Regions from separate parts of the Homo sapiens genome. Here regions 1, 2, 3, 4 and 6 are each linked to region 5. The links are contacts of gene promoters, found by promoter capture Hi-C in blood cells and fetal thymus (Javierre and others, 2016). All regions are on one chromosome and are shown on one strand. Each heading gives the region's core, a stretch centred on a gene start or on the middle of the fragment in contact. The rest is flanking DNA. Distances are from core to core; before and after follow the strand shown.

The links. Contacts are between HindIII fragments. The CHiCAGO score rates a contact against its expected background, and 5 or more counts as called.
Region 1: a fragment that was not itself captured here is called in contact with the fragment with the promoter of OPA1 in region 5 in 1 of 17 cell types (M0 macrophages); the score reaches 5.1 in M0 macrophages.
Region 2: a contact is called between a fragment that was not itself captured here and the fragment with the promoter of OPA1 in region 5, in 4 of 17 cell types (M1 macrophages, M0 macrophages, endothelial precursors and 1 more). The highest score is 7.2, in M1 macrophages.
Region 3: a contact is called between a fragment that was not itself captured here and the fragment with the promoter of OPA1 in region 5, in 4 of 17 cell types (M0 macrophages, M1 macrophages, M2 macrophages and 1 more). The highest score is 10.6, in M0 macrophages.
Region 4: a fragment that was not itself captured here is called in contact with the fragment with the promoter of OPA1 in region 5 in 3 of 17 cell types (fetal thymus, erythroblasts and non-activated CD4 T cells); the score reaches 9.1 in fetal thymus.
Region 6: a fragment that was not itself captured here is called in contact with the fragment with the promoter of OPA1 in region 5 in 2 of 17 cell types (M0 macrophages and M1 macrophages); the score reaches 6.0 in M0 macrophages.

The regions. Positions count from the first base shown.
Region 1 is chr3:192,973,948-192,977,187 of GRCh38, forward strand. No RefSeq gene overlaps it. Among named protein-coding and RNA genes, the nearest start is that of MB21D2, 58 kb to the left of the region's middle. The HindIII fragment of the contact is 9,771 bases long and covers 1-3,240 here.
Region 2 is chr3:193,044,467-193,047,753 of GRCh38, forward strand. No RefSeq gene overlaps it. Among named protein-coding and RNA genes, the nearest start is that of MB21D2, 130 kb to the left of the region's middle. The HindIII fragment of the contact is 1,622 bases long and covers 555-2,176 here.
Region 3 is chr3:192,947,114-192,950,439 of GRCh38, forward strand. No RefSeq gene overlaps it. Among named protein-coding and RNA genes, the nearest start is that of MB21D2, 31 kb to the left of the region's middle. The HindIII fragment of the contact is 2,911 bases long and covers 475-3,326 here.
Region 4 is chr3:194,142,001-194,145,251 of GRCh38, forward strand. No RefSeq gene overlaps it. Among named protein-coding and RNA genes, the nearest start is that of HES1, 7.5 kb to the left of the region's middle. The HindIII fragment of the contact is 7,774 bases long and covers 1-3,251 here.
Region 5 is chr3:193,591,895-193,595,113 of GRCh38, forward strand. It overlaps OPA1 (OPA1 mitochondrial dynamin like GTPase), which reads left to right and starts at 1,314. Exons shown (of 31, transcript NM_130837.3): 1 at 1,314-1,515. The coding sequence starts at 1,484. It also overlaps a transcript of ATP13A4 not described here. RefSeq lists enhancers at 976-1,627, 1,023-1,092, 1,143-1,192, 1,628-2,279, 1,793-1,872 and a silencer at 1,413-1,562. The HindIII fragment of the contact is 1,567 bases long and covers 753-2,319 here.
Region 6 is chr3:192,995,693-192,998,954 of GRCh38, forward strand. No RefSeq gene overlaps it. Among named protein-coding and RNA genes, the nearest start is that of MB21D2, 79 kb to the left of the region's middle. The HindIII fragment of the contact is 7,691 bases long and covers 1-3,262 here.

The DNA.
Region 1 (3,240 bases), core at 356-2,855, 620 kb before region 5:
GGCATGACATATTTGAAGTGTTGAAGGAAAAAACTTGTATCTTAGACTAGTGTAACAATTGAAAATATCCTTCAAACATGAAGGAGAAATAAAGACTTTCCCAGACAAACAAAAGCTGAGGGATTTCATTAACACCAGACTTGCCCTCCAATAAATGCTAAAGGGAGTTCTTTAATGTGAAAGGAAAGGACATTAATGAGCAATAAGAAATCCTTTGAAGGTACAAAACTCTCTGGCAATAGTAAGTATACAGAAAAACACAGTTACATATTATAATATATAATTGTGTAAGTATGTAAATATGTAAATATGTAAATATTATAACACTGTGATTGTGGTATATAAACTACTCATACCTTGAGTAGAAACACTAAAAGATAAACCTATCAAAAATAATAACTACAACAAGTTTTCAAGACATAGACAGCATAGTAAGATATAAATAGAAAACACAAAAAGTTAAAAAGTAGGAGGATGAAGTTAAAAAGTGTAGAGTTTTTATTAGTTTTCTCTTGGCTTGCTTGTTATTTTTTTTTCAATCAGTGCTAAGTTGCCATCAGTTTACTTATTTTATTTATTTATTTATTTATTTATTTATTTATTTTTTGAGATGGAGTCATGCTCTGTTGCCCAGGCTGGAGTGCAGTGGTGCGATCTCAGCTCACCTCAGCCTTTGCCTCTTGGGTTCAAGCAATTCTCCTTCCTCAGCCTCCCAAGTAGCTGGGATTACAGGTGTGCACCACCACACCCAGCTAATAAGAGGGAAGTTTATAGCAATAAGTACCTACAACAAAAAAGTTTCACCATGTTGGCCAGTCTGGTCTTGACCTCAACTGATTCTCTGACCTCAGCCTCCCAAAGCGCTGGGATTAAAGGCATCAGCCACCACACCTGGCCAAGTTGAAATCAGTTTAAAACCATGAGTTATAAGATGTTATTTGCAAGCCTCATGAGAACCTCAAATAAAAAAACCTACAACAGATACACAAAAAATAAAAGAAATTAAAATGTACTATATTATCAGAAAATATTACCTTCCCAAAAAGGAAGGAAAGAATGAAGGAAGGAAGGCCACAAAACAACAAGAAATCAAATAACAAAATGGCAGGATTAAGTCCTCACTCATAAATAATGACATTGAAAGTAAATAGATTAAACTCTCCAATCAAAACCCAGGAGTGGCTGAATGGATAAAAAACAAAACCCAACAATCTGTTGCCTACAATAAACATATTTCACCTATAAAGACACATGCAGACTCAACATAAAGGGATGGAAAAAGATATTCCCTGCAAATGGAAACCAAAGAAGAGCAGAAGTAGCTATATTTATATCAGACAAAATAGATTTCAAGACAAAAGCTGTAAAAAGAGACAAGGTAATTATATAGTGATAAAGGGGTCAATTCAGTAAGAAGATAAAACAATTATAAATATACATGCACCCAACACTGGAGCACCCAAATATATAAACTAAATATTATCAGACCTAGGGAGAGATTCCAATACAATTCTAGCTGGAGACTTCAACCTCCCACTTTCAGCGTTGGACAGAGCATCCAGACAGAAAATCAACAGAGAAACATGGGACTTAATCTGCACTATAAGACCAAATGAACCTAATAGATATTTATGGAACTTTTTATTCAATGGCTACAGAATACACAAACTTCTCCTCAGTACATGGATCATTCTCAAGGATGGACCATCTGTTAGGCCACAAAACAAGTTGTAAAATATTCAAAAATTTAAATTATATAAAATATCTTCTCTGACCACAATGGAATAAAACTAAAAATCCATACAAAGAGGAATTTTCGAAGCTATACAAACACCTGGAAATTAAACAATATGCTTCTGAATGCCCAGTGGGTCAATGAAGAAATTAAGAAGGAAATTTAAAATTTTCTTGGAATGAAGGAAAATGGACTCAGAACATCCCAAAACCTATGGGGTACTGCAAAAGCAGCAATAAGAGGAAAGTTTATAGCAATAAGTACCTACAACAAGAAAGTACAAAAATTTCAAATAGGGCCAGTTGCAGTGGCTCATGCCTGTAATCCCAGCACTTTGAAAGGCCGAGGTGGGCGGATCATGAGGTCAGGAGATCGAGACCATCCTGGCTAACACGGTGAAAACCTGTCTCTACTAAAAATACAAAAAATTAGTCAGGCGTGGTGGTGGGTGCCTGTAGTCCCACTTACTCAGGAGGCTGAGGCAGGAGTATCACTTGGATCTGGGAGGCAGAAGTTGCAGTGAGCCGAGATTGCACCACTGCACTCCAGCCTGGGAGACAGAGTGAGACTCTGTCTCCAAAAAAAAAAAAAGAAAGAAAGAAAAGAAAAGATAAATTTCAAACAATAACCCCATGATGCATCTTAAGGAAGTAAAAAAGCAAGAGCAAACCCAACCCAAAATTAGCAGAAGAAAAGAAATAATAAAAATCAGCCCAAATATAAATAAAATTGAAATTAAAAAAATACCAAAGATAAACAAAATAAAAAGTCAAGTTTTCAAAAAGATAAAATGGACAAATCCTTAGCCAGACTAACTAAGAAAAAAAAAAAAGAAAGAAAAAACCCAAGTGAATAAAATCAGAGATGAAAAAAGAGACATTACAACTGCTACTACAGAAATCCAAAGGATTATTACAGGATACTATGAGCAACTATATGCCAATAAATTGGAAAACCTAAAAGAAATGGATACATTTCTACACACATACAGTCTACCAAGATTGAACCATGAATAAATCCAAAACCTGAATAGACCAATAAGAAGTCATGAGATTGAAGCCATAATAAAGTCTCCCAGCAAGGAAAAGCCCAGAACCTGATGGCTTCACTGCTGAATTCGCCCAAACATTTACAGAATATCTTACTCAACCTGTGCTGAAAATTGAAGGAGGAGGGAATACTTCCAAAATCATTCAAAAACAACAACAACAACAAAAACAAACAACTAGAGGCCAATAGCCCTAATAAACATTGATGCAAAAATCCTCAACCAAATGCTAGTAAACCAAATTTGACAGCACATTAATAAGATCAGTCATCAAGACCAAGTGGGATTTATCCCAAGAATGCAAGGATGGTACAACATACACAAATCAATCAATGTGATGCATTATATTAACAGAATGAAGGACAAAAACCATGTGATCATTTCAATTGATTGCTGAAAATGTATTTGATAAAATTCAACATCCTTTTATGATAAAAACCCTAAAAAAACTGGGCAT
Region 2 (3,287 bases), core at 116-2,615, 550 kb before region 5:
CAATCTCTCCATTATACCACAATTCTTTAAAATACCTTCCTTCAGCCTGGGTGTGGTAGCTCACACCTGTAATCCCAGCACTTTGGGAGGCCAAGGTTGGATAATCACTTGAGTGCAGAAGTTTGAGACCAACCTGGGTAACATGGCAAAACGCTGTCTGTACAAAAAATAAAAAAAATTAGCCAGGCATGGTGGTGTAAACCTGTAGTCCCAGTTACTTAGGAGGCTAAAGTGGGAGGATCACTTGAGCCTGGGTGGTTGAGGCTGCAGTAAGCCATGATCTTACCACTGCACTCCAGCCTGGGCAACAGAGTGAGACCCTGTCTCAAAAATAAATAAAACAATAAATATTAAAATATCTTCCTTTAATAAACAAAGAAAAATCTAACAATGCTCTTTATTCCCAACAATTTATTAATGACACATATGAAAGTAGAAGAAATAATAACAATAACAGCAGTAATATGTTTCATGGAGATCGTTTAAGCTTAGTCTTAAATTGAAATATTTGGGATAAAATATATATAAATATATAGTGACTTGGAGATCATTTAAGCTTAGTCTTAAATTGAAAGATTTGGGATAAAAATATATATAAATATACAGTGACTGGGTATATACCCAAAGGAATGTAGGTCATGCCATCATAAAGACACATGCACATGTATGTTCTTGCAGCACTATTCACTACAGCAAACACATGGAATCAACCTAAATGTCCATGAGTGGTAGACTGGATAAAGAAAATGCAGTACGTATACACCATGGAATACTATGCAGCCATACAACGGAGGCCATTATCCTTAGCAAACTAATGCAGGAACAGAAAATTAAATATTTCACATTCTCACTTATAAGCAGGAGCTAAATGATGAGAACACATGGACACATAGAGAGGAACAGCAGGCACAGGGGCCTACCTGAGGGTGGAGGGTAGGAGGAAGGAGAGGATCAGGAAAAATAACTAATGAGTATTAGGCTTAACACCTGGGTGACAAAATAATCTGTACAACAAATCCCTGTGACATAAGTTTACATAAATAACAAACCTGCACATGTACTCCTGAACTTAAAAGTTAAAAAAAGAAATGTAAGTTTCATACAAAAAAAATGAATAAGTAGCAACCTGGGATGAAAATTGTCACTGAGTTTTTTACTCCACAGCACGTTCTTATTGTTGTCCATCTATGAAGATGAAGCATGGAGACTCCTTTACGAGACTCTACTGGGTATTTCAATAGGTATTCCTACCTGTGAGAATGCATGCATGGACCACTCCTCTAGGCAGAGGCTCCTCATCTGGAGGAGTGAAAGGAGAATTAGGGAGACAAGAAATTATTACAAGAGTTCCAGAGATCTTGAAGTATAAATATTTTTTCATTCCAGGCATGTAAAAAATATGGCCACAGTTATGTATGTGTGTGTTGTGGGATGTGGCATGGTTCTGCATATATGAGGTGTTCTTTTGTTGAAGAAGTTGGGGATTATTGCTATAGATCAATAATATTAAAAATCCCATTTATAATATATTATTTTCCACTCTCCCTTCCTGTAATAAAACCAACCATCCCAACAATCACAATATAAATGGATGTTTTCTGAGACGAATTCAGTTTTCTAGTTGTGAGTGAGTTGAACTCAACCAGCTTCTACCTGCAAGATATGTTGCAACTGCTTTGGACCTCACTCTGGGGAAGCGAAGATGGGGTAGAATAAAGAACTCTCTAGAAAAGTAGCCAGAGAGACTGTTCTTCAAGAAGCAACATCTGTTCAGCACCTATCACAGACCCTGGATTATATGTGGTGAAACTGTTTTTTGCCTGTGGTTTGTGGATGGAGCTTTGGGGCCAGTCATCAATATCTATTTCAGCGGTCAGAGCCTCTTTGCTCTGTGCTAACTAAACTTCATCCAGGTTTTTGTGGTACTCTTGTGATTTGTGAAATGACAGACACCTGGACTAAAAGGAATGACAAAATATATTTCAAGACTTTCAAAAGGGTTCCATAGTTTGATGCCAATTGTCTTGAGGCAAGCGGCTGGGCATTCCCTTCCAAGGAGGATCGTGAACAGCTGTCAGGCCTAATCTGGGTGAGAGATGAAAGGGGTGACCTGCGGGTTAAAGTCTCCACTGCCTGCTGCAAATCCCCCGAGTTATCTAATCTGTCCAGCGGCACAAGCTTTCTGCAAAGAAAGCATTATTTTACAGCTGACTCTTTAACAAAGGGGAAATAACAACTGTTAGAAAATGTAGTAAGTAGTTGTCCTAAGATAATGCTGCTTGAATAAATTCTATAGAGTTTTTTTAATTAAAAAATCTTCAAAAGGACAGATAAATATCAGAAAGCCCACATGGACTGTGTACACGAGGCATTGCATTGCATTATGGAATATTGTCTAGGTTCTTTTTGTGTGGGTGTGTGTGTGACAGAGTCTCACTTTGTTGCCCAGGCTGGAGTGCAGTGGCACAATCTTGGCTCACCGCAACCTCCACCTCCCAGGTTCAAGTGATTCTCCTGCCTCAGCCTCCTGAGTAGTTGGGATTACAGGCGTCCACCACCATGCCCAGCTAATTTTTGTATTTTTAGTAGAGACAGGGTTTCACCATGTTGGCCAGGCTGGTCTCAAACTCTTGACCTCAAGTGATCCACCTGCCTCGGCCTCCCAAAGCGCTGGGATTACAGGCGTGAGCCACTGCACCTGGCTGTCCAGGTTCTTACACACACACACACACACACAGACACACACACACACACAGAGAGAGTGAGAGAGAGAAAGAGAGAGAGAGAGAACACCATCAGCCTAAAGTCCTGTACATGGGCTAATTGCCTCTAACCCAAAGTCTGCTTGGGATGATTGGTGTGATGGTTAATATTGAATGTCAACTTGATTGGACTGAAGGATGCAAAATATTGTTCCTGGGTGTATCTGTGCGGGTGTTGACACATTTGAATCAGTGGACTGGGAGAGGCAGACCCACCCTCAATCTGGGTGGGCACCATCTAATCAGCTGCCAGTGTGGCTAGAATAAAGCAGGCAGAAAATTTGGAAGGACTAGACTTGCTGAGTCTTCCAGCCTTCATCTTTCTCCCATGCTGGATGCTTCCTTCCTTGAACATCAGACTCCAGGTTCTTCAGCTTTTGGACTCTTGGACTTAACACCAGTGATTTTCCAGAGGCTCTCAGGCCTTTGGCCACAGACCGAAGGCTACACTTTTGGCTTCCCTACTTTTGAGGTTTTGGGACTTGGACTGGCTTCCTTGCTCCTCAGCTTGCAGATGGCCTATTG
Region 3 (3,326 bases), core at 680-3,179, 640 kb before region 5:
AGGGAGAACCTTGTGTGCCCTGTTCTTCTGTTCTTCCCCAAATTCTGTAATAGTGCCCAATACAGAGACACACTCAATAAGTATGTTGCATAAATATATATGAATGCACAGTGAATGTTAGGTTAACGGGGGCTTCCAGGTGGTTCAGGAAGAGCAAAAGCTGCAAACGACAGCCGGACTTTTCTCTCTTGAGCTGAAAAGTAGGGCAGACCCATTGCTTTTCCACCCCTTTGTACATCAAAAACCATATTATTAACATCCTCCAGGTGGTAAAAGAAAAGAGGACACTAGCTGATCTATCTGTGCCATATAGTTTTTTGGTTCAGAATATTAACTACTTGGAGAATTACACACACACTATCAGATTTAAAGACTTACTATAAAGCTACAGTAATCTCAGGACAGTATTGACCAGTGGAACAGAATCAAGAGCACAGAGACATCTGTAGAAATATGGTCAATTGATTTCTGGCAAGCTTCCAAAGACAATTAATGGAAGAGAGGATTTGTCTATTCAACAAAGGATGATGAAACAATTGGTCATCCATATGCAAAGCCAAGAACTTTGACCAAAACTTCAAACTTTATATAAAAATAATTCAAAATGAATCATAGAGCTAAATGTAAAACATGAAACTATAAAGCCGTTTTTGGTAGTTTTTTTTTTTATTATTATTATTTTATTTTTCTTTTTGTTTTTGAGACAGGGTCGCCCAGGCTGGAGTGCAGTGGCAAGTACACGGCTCACTACAGCCTGGGGCTCCTGGGCTCAAGGGATCCTTCTGCCTCAACCTCCTGAGTAGCTGGGACTACAGGTGGGTTTCATCACGCCCGGCTAATTTTTTATTTTTATGTTTTGTAGAGCCAGGGTTTCACCATGTTGCCCAGGTTGCTCTCAAATTGCTGGGCTCAAGTAATCTGCTGCCTCGGCCTCCCAAGTGTTGGGATTACAGGCATGAGCCACGAGGCTCAGCCCTATAAAACCTTTCAAAGAATTGATAGGACCAAAATGTTTTTGACCTGAAGTTAGGCAGACAGGCTTTTTGTTTTATTTATTTTTTTAAGTGACTTAAAAATATTTACTTATTACAAATTTATTATCTTACACTTCTGAAGGTAAGTCTTAAATGGGTTTCATTAAGCTAAAATCAAGATGTCAGCAGGGCTGCGATCCTTCTGGAAATTCTAGGGGAGAAACTGTTTCTCTGTCTTTTCCAGCTTCTGGGGAGGCCTGCATTCCTTGGCTCGTGGCTCCTTTCTCCATCACCAAAGCCAGTACCGTAGTGTCTTCCCATCACTTTCTCCTTCTCTCTGACCCAGACCCTCCTGTCAGAGAGTTCTCAAACAGGACACCAAGAACATGATCCGTTAAAACGAAAAGTTGATAAACTGGACTTCATAACAATTTAAGAAGTTTGCTTTGTAAAATACATTATTAAGATAATGAAAATACAAGCTATGAACTGGATGATGAAAATAGTTGTGAATCATATTTCTGATGAAGGACTCCGAATATATAAAGAATTCTTAAAACTCAATGGTAAGAAAAACACACTTTTTTAAATGGGCAAATATCTTGAATAGACACTTTGCTAAAGAGGATATAGATGGCAAATAAGCACAGAAAGGGATGTTTAGCATCTCTTTAATGAGCACATGAAGAAGTTCAAATAGAAAAAATGCAAATTAAACCACCATGAGATACTATTAAACACTTTTTAGAAAGGCTGAAATTAGGCCAGGCACGGTGGCTCATGCCTGTAATCCCAGCACTTTAGGAGGCGGAGGTGGGCGGATCACCTGAGGTCAGGAGTTCAAGACCGGCCTGACTAATATGGTGAAGCCCTCTCTCTACTAAAAATACAAAATTAGCCTGGCATGGTGGCACATGCCTGTAATCCCAGCTACTTGAGAGGCTGAGGCAGGATAATCACTTGAACCCGGGAGGTGGAGGTTGCGATGAGCCGAGATCATACCATTGCACTCCAGCTTGGGCAACAAGAGTGAAACTCCATCTCAAAAAAAAAAAAAAAAAAAAAAAAAGGAAGAAAGAAAAAAGGAAAAGAAAGGCTGAAAAGAAAAAAAGAAAACAGTAACTGACAATACCAAGTGCTGATAAGGATGTGGAGGCACTGGAGCTGTAATATTTTGCTGGTGAGAAGTCAAGATACAACCATTCTAGAAAAGGTTGGCAGTTGTAAGGTTAAACAAATGCTTACCATGTGACCCAACAACCTGACTCCTAGGTATTTATCCCCACAAAACAAACACTTACCTTTACACAAAATCTTACATGTAATGCGTATAGCGACTCTATTCATGATCTCCAAAACCTGAGACAGCTCAAATTTCTTTCAACAGATGAATGGATAAATAAATGTGATACATCTGTATTACAGAAAATTACTCAGCAATGTAAAGGAAGAGACTATCGTTCCATGCAGCAGCAAGAATGGAGTTCAAAGACATTATACTGAGTGGAAGAAGTCAGTTCGAAAAGGTTATATACTACAAAATTCCATTTATGTCACATTCTCACAAAGAAAAAGACTATGTGACAGAGACCAGATCACTGAGTTCCAGGGGTTAGCATGGGAGGAAGGTGTGATTACAAATGGGTAAAGCGATGGTACTGATTTGTATACTGATTGTAGTGATGCTTGCATGAATCTACACACGTATTAAAATTCTTAGAACTGTACATCAGGAAAGCCAATTTTATTATATAAAATTTAAAAAAAAATTTAATGAAAGAACTAATAATTATCAAGACCTTGAATCCAGATTCCATTACTTTATAGCTGCGCTATATTGAACCAGGTACTATTTTCCTTAAGCCTCAGTTTTCTCATCACCTAAAATGTGTATAAGAGTATCTACATCGTGGCCGGGCGCAGTGGCTCACGCTTGTAATCCCAGCACTTTGGGAGGCCGAGGAGGGCGGATCATGAGGTCAGGAGATCGAGAACATCCTGGCCAACATGGTGAAACCCTGTCTCTACTAAAATACAAAAAATTAGCAGGGTGTGGTGGCGCGTGCCTGTAGTCCCTGCTACTCAGGAGGCTGAGGCAGGGGAATCACTTCAACCCAGGAGGTGGAGATTGCAGTGAGCCGAGATCGTGCCACTGCACTCCAGCCTGGAGACAGAGCAAGACTCTGTTTCAAATAAATAAATAAATAAATAAATAAATAAATAAATAAATAAATAAGAGTATCCACATCTCATAGGGATGTTTGGTGAATTATAGGAGGCCATGTGTATATAGTTGTATGCACAGTGGCATATTAGTGAATACACAATAAATTTACCTGTTAATATGGGGTC
Region 4 (3,251 bases), core at 456-2,955, 550 kb after region 5:
AAAACCCTGAGCGCCTACTGAGTGCTCAGCAGGCCCAATTCCCACCAGCCTCCGCCGCACCGAGCTCCCTGTGTAGCCGGGGAGATCCACAAACACCCTCGTGACTCATCCCAGGTTTGATGTGCTAAGTGCCAAAACTGAAGTTTAAACAAAGGGCACCTAGAACAGAGAGATTAATTCTGATGAGAGGAAACCAGGCCGGGGAGGTTTTTCAGAGTTGGCACTTGAAGCCGAGAGGTGAAAGATGAGTTCAACAGGAAGGGTTAGAAGCAGAAGGGTGAGGGAAAACGCGGAGATGAACATATATACGTCCAGTCTGGGGAGATGTCAGTATGTTTACCATGGTGTGGTATCTAAGTTTTCAAATATACAAATTGGCTTAGAGGTCAAAAAAAGAAAAAGAGGGATAAGCCCTGCCGCAGTGGTTGGCTTAAATGCAATACAGCCCAGGGGTTAGAAGCACGTGGTCTGGCTCCTGGCGGCTTGGCTTAGGTTTTGAGCCCGAGGGAAATTACTGAACTCCCTGCCTCAATTTTGTAACTCTGTATCTCATTTGTAACTTAGGGCTCGTCAGGGTAGTGCTTCACAGGGTTGAGAAGATGAAATGAGTACATGCACTTAAAGCATTTAGAATAGTGCTGTCAGCTCTTCGGATTCTTAACCACAGTGAGGGACGTTCACCAGACAAGAAAGCCAGTCCCGGCCTTTGCCCAGCGATGGCAGGATCTGCTTGTAATTGCACCAGGCCCTAGGTGAAAGGACCACTGCTTCTTCCTTAGTTTCTGAATTTCATGCATTCATTTGATAATTATTGAACCAGGCACTATGGGAATAAAGGGAGAAGAAAGGCATGGTCTCTGTAACTATAAAGCTATCTGGTAGACAAGACAGCTTCCACACAAGAACAGCACTGCTGGGCGCGGTGGCTCACGCCTGTAATCCCAGCACTTTGGGAGGCCAAGGCGGGTGGATCACAAGGTCAGGAGATCGAGACCATCTTGGCTAACATGGTGAAACCCCGTTTCTACTAAAAATACAAAAATTAGCCGGGCTTGGCGGCATGCGCCTGCAGTCCCAGCTGCTGGGGAGGCTAAGGCAGGAGAATGGCGTGAACCTGGGAGGCGGAGCTTGCAGTGAGCCAAGATTGTGCCACTGCACTCCAGCCTGGGTGACAGAGCGAGACTCCATCTCAAAAAAAAAAAAAAAAAAAAAAAAAAACCAAGAACAACAACAAATTGCTGTGTTAAGTGCCATAAGGAAAGAGTCATGCACAGTGATGGTACAAAAAAAGATTGCACGTCACAACAGGTAACTTTTTTGGTTCTCCAAATATGATTAATCCTTGTGATCATTCATAGAAATTACTGGCATAGTAAATAATTAGTCAAATTCCACCTAAGAAAGGTGATTCTCAAATGGTTAATTTCAAGGGTAATTATTTTACAATACTAACATCTTCTGCATGAGCATAATTACCTAGATGTGGTCAAGAAACTGGACTGCGAGTCAGGAAATCTGAGGCCTGATCCAGTTGGACTGCTACCTGTGAGATGCTGGCCAAGTCCCCTTACGTCTCTGGGCTTCGATCTCTGTGCCAGCACAATGAGAACGTTAGGCCAGGAAGCCTCTGAAGTGCTTTCAACTCCAGTCTGTGATTCCCTGTCCTCAGTGTGCTTCTGTGTGCCTTTACAGTTTGACACATGCTCTGTGGCTCTAGCAATGTATATCAGGCGTATTTCAGACCTTACAGCCAAGGCCCTGGCAGGATTGTTACAGACAAGTTTTTTGTTTTTTTGTTTTTTTTTGAGACGGAGTCTCACTCTGTCGCCCAGGCTGGAGTGCAGTGGCACTATCTTGGCTCACTGCAAGCTCTGCCTTCCGGGTTCACACCATTCTCCTGCCTCAGCCTCCTGAGGAGCTGGGACTACAGGCACCCGGCTAATTTTTTTTTTTTTTTGTATTTTTAGTAATGACAGGGTTTCACCGTGTTAGCCAGGATGGTCTCAATCTCCTGACCTCATGATCCACCCACATTGGCCTCCCAAAGTGCTGGGATTACAGGCGTGAGCCACCGCGCCCGGCGACAGACAAGTATTTTCATCTGCAGTTAAAGATATGGGGACTGAGACCTGAAGGACAGGCATCGTAGTTCACCAGAAAATAGCCTACGTATCAGTTTCCTGGAGAGCTGCCATGTTAGTGAGAATCATAGCTACTGCAAAGTACATCGAAGGCAGACTGCATCTGCCAGGATTTGCTCACATATGTGCTACCAAGACCTTATCCTTTGCTATGATATCGAGCAGCAAGAGTTAAAAATACCACTTTCTCTCTTCATCCTAAAAAAATTTCCCCCAATCCTTTTCACTTGCTCACTTCTTTTCTGAAAAGAGAATGTGATCTGTTGGTTCTCGGGACTCTCTCTATTTAAGAAATATACTTCCCCAACTGGGCCAGGTGCAGTGGCTCACACCTGTAATCCCAGCACTTTCAGAGGCAAAGACAGAAGATTGCTTGCACCAGGGGTTCAAGACCAGTCTGGGCAACATAGTGAGACCGACATCTCTATGGGGGAAAAAATAAAGAAAAAAAATATATATATTTCCCCAACTAGCTAGAGTTTTTCCACTAGTACATTTACTGAATTAAATAGGCTAACTGGACTAGTCTGGCTAAAGAAGAATGTCAATCTGAATTAGTGGAAAATCTGAGTTTTAAATATCTGTTAGGAAAAGTAGTAACTTTGCAAATACTTGTAGTGAGTCTGAATTCATAGCTTTCATAAAACTAATGCATTAAAGTCATTTAAAGAATGTGTTCTCTTATTAAGCAGGTTAAATGTGGCTCTGGCAATATTATTTGTACTATAAATCTTCCTTAAAATAATCAGAGGGGCCAGAGTGCAGCCCAAGTAAATAATTGCAATCTAAATTAATAAGAAGCCTTTACTGCAGCTATTCTTTCTATGTTCAGATATGTTCCCAATCCTAATTTGTCTTTAGTCAAGCAGAGATCAATACATTTTTTTCTTAGAAGTCCAAGTATAACTTAATGATAGCCATGTTATTTAAGGAACACTATTTGTTTCTTATTTTGTTTTTCACAAATGTGATAGTTTTCATGTTCAACTAACTTTATGAGTTTTGTCATCAATGTGAGACATGAAATGTATAATTAGTTTACAAAAAACTCCAGCCTAAAGAAAAACTATTGCAATTGACAAACACTACCCCATACTTCATGTTTTCTGC
Region 5 (3,219 bases), core at 64-2,563:
TCCCAGGAAGATCTACAGTTTGCACAGGTTGGTACAGCAAATTGCTCTCTGGACCTGCCATTGAAACAGTCACCACAATAAATAAAGAAAATTCTAAGAGTCCTGCATTTGGGAAGTTTACTATCAATGGCTAGGTCTACTCTTGGTGGTATTGTGAGTGCATGGGTCCAGACTTATGATTCTGACAATTAAGGGAAAAGGAATTGTCTTTATGCTCTGTGTATTTGTGTATGTGTGTGGCATGGGTGGGGGGCGGGTAGTGGGGAGGAGGTGAAAGGTCCCTGAAGTAAAGAGGATGCACAGGACCCTTTTATTTTAGTCCCTAAAAATTGGCTTCATAACCGTTCACAGGCCACATCCCTTTTACGGGCCCTGGTTTCCTTACAAAACATAAAAGGTTTGTGTTGGAAGGGGAAAGGAGTATTTAAAGTGATGGAGGAGAGGAGCTCAAGATGGCTGAGATCTGGGCCTGTCCAACATTGAGAAATTTGGGAGGGGAGCCATCAAAGAAGCCTGGGAGCAGCAGTTCCAGGGAAAAAGGAGAATGTGATGGCCAGAGAGCCAAAAGAAAAAGTAGTTGAAGGAGTGCTCAGCACTAGGCATCTGAACTGAATGCTGTGGCAGGCTCACTGGCCACAAACAATAGGGAGCTGGTGGAGGCCTTGACGAGGACCATTTCAACAAACTGGTGGGCTTAAAATCCGGAAGAAACAGTTGAACAAATCATTTTGACGCCTTTTATAAACCACACAAGCTTATTCCAAACCCGTTACTGGCCTAACTGATTTAAGTCCCTTTCCCATCTGATCCTCAGAGATTCTAAGGGACTTAGCCTATCCATGACTCTTCGTCCTGCTTCTCACCTCCCATGATTGCCCTAACGATGTGAAAGTGCTTTCAAACAAAGATGCCCAAGAAAGAAGGTAGGCAAATGTGCAAGCATTAGTTTGTAGTACGCTATTACTGTATTTCACCTTGCACTCTCTAGTTTCCTTCGTGCTCCCTCAATATCCAACTCTTAATAAATTCATGGCTCCCGGTGAGCATTCATCAATTCTCATTCCACGCCTTTAGCCCTTCCCGTTCCCGCCCAACTCTCGCTCCCTCCCCTGGCCAAATCTCTAACCTGCAAGGCTAATTCCGAATTCCAAATCGGAAGCAAGAGGGCGGGGCCCCGTGAGAGGCGATGGATTGCTCCAGTCCGTTCCCGACGCACTGTGCGCATGCGCTGGTCCTCCGCGGACCGTTCGTGCTGCCCGCCTAGAAAGGGTGAAGTGGTTGTTTCCGTGACGGACTGAGTACGGGTGCCTGTCAGGCTCTTGCGGAAGTCCATGCGCCATTGGGAGGGCCTCGGCCGCGGCTCTGTGCCCTTGCTGCTGAGGGCCACTTCCTGGGTCATTCCTGGACCGGGAGCCGGGCTGGGGCTCACACGGGGGCTCCCGCGTGGCCGTCTCGGCGCCTGCGTGACCTCCCCGCCGGCGGGATGTGGCGACTACGTCGGGCCGCTGTGGCCTGGTAAGTGCAGGCTCTAATCTGGCCCCGTTAATTCTGGGGCCTCTTGAGAGTGGGGCTGTCTTATCTCTATCTCCAAAAATGTGCAGGTGACTCTCAGGCCAGGCCGACGGCAGTTGGAGAATTCCCAGATGTTCTTGAGGACCCAGAATGACAGGAGCCCTGGCTGGGCTTACGTTCGGAGCCGGCTTCAATACTGGCCCTTTTCTCTGGCCCTACCCAACCCGAAAATTCTGGACGCCTCTCAATCTTGGCCCGTCTCTATTGTCCTTTTGTCTCTGCCCTTTACACCCTTGTGTCTTCAGTGTTCTGTCTGTCTCTGGTTGCCTCTTTTGCCTTTTTTCTGTCCTCTCCCTGCCAGGTTTGGCTCTGTCCATGAGTCACCTCTCTCCACATTTCTCCTAACTCTCGGTGTCTTCTTTTTCTTCCATTTCCACGCCATGTGTACATTGCATCTTCAGGTACCTGGGCTCTTCTATCGGGGAAAGGGGCGTCCGTCTCTTTCCCTAGCCCGCTGATAGAAGTCAGAACTAGAGCAATGACGCACACGGTGTCAGAGACGGTGATTCGAGATGCCCTTTCAATAGCAGCTTTTTTCTGTGTTTCGGGAGGGAGACTTACTTTTTGATGCAAGGTCGTGAACGTGGCACCACCTTTCTAATCTCAATCATTGTTGCCCTGGGGTGGTTTAATTCTAAATAGAAAATCATAGAAATCTTTTCATTTCTGTGCGTTACTATATGCATTGTAATGAGATTAAATTGGATTTTATAGGAAATTTTGTTCTAGTATCATTAGATACCTTCAAGCTTAGCTCATTGTTGCAGGCATTTGATAGGAAGTAAGATGCATCAAGCAAAATTGGAAAAACGTGGTTTTCCTGAATTAACTTCTAAGCAGTTGTTTTGAATTTTTTCCAGACCTTTTTAAGTGGTATAGATAATTTATCGTGTTTATAAGGAATGGAATGCATTCGTTAGTTTGTTTTTGTTTTGTTTTGAGACGGAGTCTTGCTCTGTCGTCCAGGCTGGAGTGCAGTAGCGCTATCTCGGCTCACTGCAACCTCCGCCTCCCAGGTTCAAGCAATTCTCCTGTCTCCGCCTCCGGAGTAGCTGGAATTACAGGCACGCGCCAGCACGCCTAGCTAATTTTTGTATTTTTAGTAGAGAGGGGGTTTCACCATTTTGGCCAGGCTGGTCTCGAACTCCTGACCTCATGTGATCCACCCTCCTCGACTTCCCAAAGTGCTGGGATTACAACCGTGAGCCACCGCGCCCGGCCCAATTTGTTTTATATAGGTTAACTGGAGTCCAAAATACAGAACTAGATGAGATAACAATAGTTAACAGTGTTAGTCAGTTAGAATTATTGCATAGGTATTTTTAATCTCATGGAATTTTAGTCTTTGAGTAAGTTCACAGCCCTTGGTATTAAAGTAAGTTATTTACAACCCTTGCATTTCTACTTCTCAATATTTAGTGAGGAAACATATCTGATTTTCTTTAAATAAAAAGAGAAAAGACTGCAGAAGATAGCATTCTCTGTTGGAGCAATTAAGATGTATAAGAAGAACTACAAAGACGGAGTTTTAAAACAAACTGATTTATAAGTGGTATTTATTTAATTGGCTGTCATTGGGCTAAATTATTTCTAAAGTTACCATGGATGCCATTGAGTCATGGCTTAAAAATGTCTCCTGGTGATGGC
Region 6 (3,262 bases), core at 545-3,044, 600 kb before region 5:
CATGTACACATCCAGATGGCCAGTTCCTGCCTTAACTGATGACATTCCACCACAAAAGAAGTGAAAATGGCCTGTTCCTGCCTTAACTGATGACATTGTCTTGTGAAATTCCTTCTCCTGGCTCATCCTGGCTCAAAAGCTCCCCTACTGAGCACCTTGTGACCCCCCCACTCTGCCCGCCAGAGAACAACCCCCCTTTGACTGTAATTTTCCTTTATCTACCCAAATCCTGTAAAAATGGCCCCACTCTTATCTCCCTTCACTGACTCTCTTTTCAGACTCAGCCTGCCTGCACCTGGGTGATTAAAAGGTTTGTTGCTCACACAAAGCCTGTTTGGTGGTCTCTTCACACGGACATGCATGAAATTCGGTGCCGTGACTCGGATCAGGGGACCTGCCTTGGGAGATCAATCCTCTGTCCTCCTGTTCTTTGCTCCGTGAGAAAGATCCACCTACGACCTCAGGTCGTCAGACTGACCAGACCAAGAAACATCTCACCAATTTCAAATCCGGTAAGCAGCCTCTTTTTACTCTGTTCTCCAACCTCCCTCACTATCCCTCAACCTCTTTCTCCTTTCAATCTTGGCGCCACACTTCAATCTCTCCCTTCTCTTAATTTCAATTCCTTTCATTTTCTGGTAGAGACAAAGGAGACACGTTTTATCCGTGGACCCAAAACTCCAGCGCCAGTCATGGACTGGGAAGGCAGCCTTCCTTTGGTGTTTAATCATTGCAGGGACGCCTCTCTGATTATTCACCCACATTTCAGAGGTGTCAGACCATGCAGGGATGCCTGCCTTGGTCCTTCACCCTTAGCGGCAAGTCCTGCTTTTCTGGGGGAGGGGCAAGTACCCCAACCCCTTCTCTCCGTGTCTCTATCCCTTCTCCGCTTTTCTTGGGGAGGGGCAAGAACCCCTCAACCCCTTCTCCTTCACCCTTAGCGGCAAGTCCTGCTTTTCTAGGGGGCAAGAATCCCCAATCCCTTATTTCCGTGCCCTGACCTCTTATCTCTGTGCCCCATCCCTTATTTCCGTGCCCCGACCTCTTATCTCTGCGCTCCGATCCCTTATTTCCGTGCCCTGACCTCTTATCTCTGTGGCTCAACCCCTTATTTCCATGCCCTGACCCCTTTCCTGCTTTTCTGGAGAGTAAGAAGCCCCGAACCCCTTCCCTCTGTGTCTCTACTCTCTCTTTTCTCTGGGCTTGCCTCCTTCACTATAGGCAAACTTCCACCCTCCATTCCTCTGTCTCCCTTAGCCTGTGCTCTCAAGAACTTAAAACCTGTTCAACTCACACCAGACCTAAAACCTAAATGCCTTATTTTCTTCTGCAATGCTGCTTGACCCCAATACAAACTCAACAGTGGTTCCAAATAGCCAGAAAATGGCACTTTGAATCTTTCCATCCTGCAAGATCTAAGTAATTCTTGTTGTAAAATGGGCAAACGGTCTGAGGTGCCTGATGTCCAGGCATTCTTTTACACATCAGTCCCTCCCTAGTCTCTGTGTCCAGTGCAACTTGTCCCAAATCTTCCTTCTTTCCCTCCCACCTGTCCCCTCAGTCCCAACCCCAGGCATTGCTGAGTCTTTCTAATATTCCTTTGCTACAGACCCATCTGACCTCTCCCCTCCTCCCCAGGCTGGTCCTCACCAGGCCGAGCTAGGTCCCAATTCTTCCTCAGCCTCTGCTCCTCCATCCTATAATCTTTTTATCACCTCCCCTCCTCACACCTGGTCCAGTTTACAGTTTCATTCTGTGAGTAGCCCTCCCCCACCTGCCCAGCAATTTCCTCTTAAAAAGGTGGCTGAAGCTAAAGGCATAGTCAAGGTTAATGCTCCTTTTTCTTTATCAGACCTCTCCCAAATCAGTGAGCATTTAGGCTCTTTCATCAAATATGAAAAACCCAGCCCAGTTCATGGCTCGGCAGCAGCCCTGAGATGCTTTACAGCCCTAGATCCTAAAAGGTCAAAAGGCTGTCTTATTCTCAATATACACTTTATTACCCAATCTGCTCCTGACATTAAATAAAACTCCAAAAATTAAATTCCGGCCCTCAAACCCCACAACAGGACTTAATTAACCTCGCCTTCAAGGTGTACAATAATAGAGTAAAGGCAGCCAAGTAGCAATGTATTTATGAATTGCAATTACTTGTCTGCACTGTGAGACAAACCCCAGCCACATCTCCAGCACACAAGAACTCCAAACACCTGAACCACAGCTGCCAGGGGTTCCTTCAGAACCTCCTCCCCCAGGAGCTTGCTACAAGTGCCGGAAATCTGGCCACTGGGCCAAGGAATGCCCACAGCCCAGGATTCCTCCTAAGCCGTATTCCGTCTGTGTGGGACCTCACTGAAAATCAGACTCTTCAACTCACCTGGCAGCCACTCCCAGCTTCCCTGGAACTCTGGCCCAAGGCTCTCTGACTGACTCCTTCTCAGATCTTCTCAGCTTAGCGGCTGAAGACTGACACTGCCTGATTGCCTTGGAAGCCCCCTAGACCATCATGGACACCGAGCTTTGAGTAACTCTCACAGTGGAAAGTAAGTCCATCCCCTTCTTAATCAATACAGAGGCTACCCACCCCACATTACCTTCTTTTCAGAGGCCTGTTTCCCTTGCTTCCATAACTGTTGTGCGTATTGACAGCCAGGCTTCTAAACCTCTTAAAACTCCCCAACTCTGGTGCCAACTTAGACAATACTCTTTTAGGCACTCCTTTTAGTTATCCCCACCTGCCCAGTTCCCTTATTAGGCCGAGACACTTTAACTAAATTATCTGCTTCCCTGACTATTCCTAGGCTACAGCCACACCTCATTGCTGCCTTTTCCCCCAGTTCAAAGCCTCCTTCACATCTTCCCCTTGTATCTCCCCACCTTAACCCACAAGTATAAGATACATCTACTCCCTCCTTAGGGACTGATCATGCACCCCTTACCATCCCATTAAAACCTAATCACTCTTACCCTGATCAATGCCAATATCCCATCCCACAGCATGCTTTGAAAGGATTAAATCCTGTTATCACTCGCCTGTTACAGCATGGCCTTTTAAAGCCTATAAACTCTTCTTACCATTCCCCCATTTTACCTGTCCTAAAACCAGACAAGGCTTACAGGTTAGTTCAGAATCTGCGCCTTATCAACCAAATTGTTTTGCCTAGCCACCCCATAGTGCCAAACCCATATACTCTCCTGTCATCAATACCTTCCTCTACAACCCATTATTCTGTTCTGGATCTCAAACATGCTTTCTTTACTA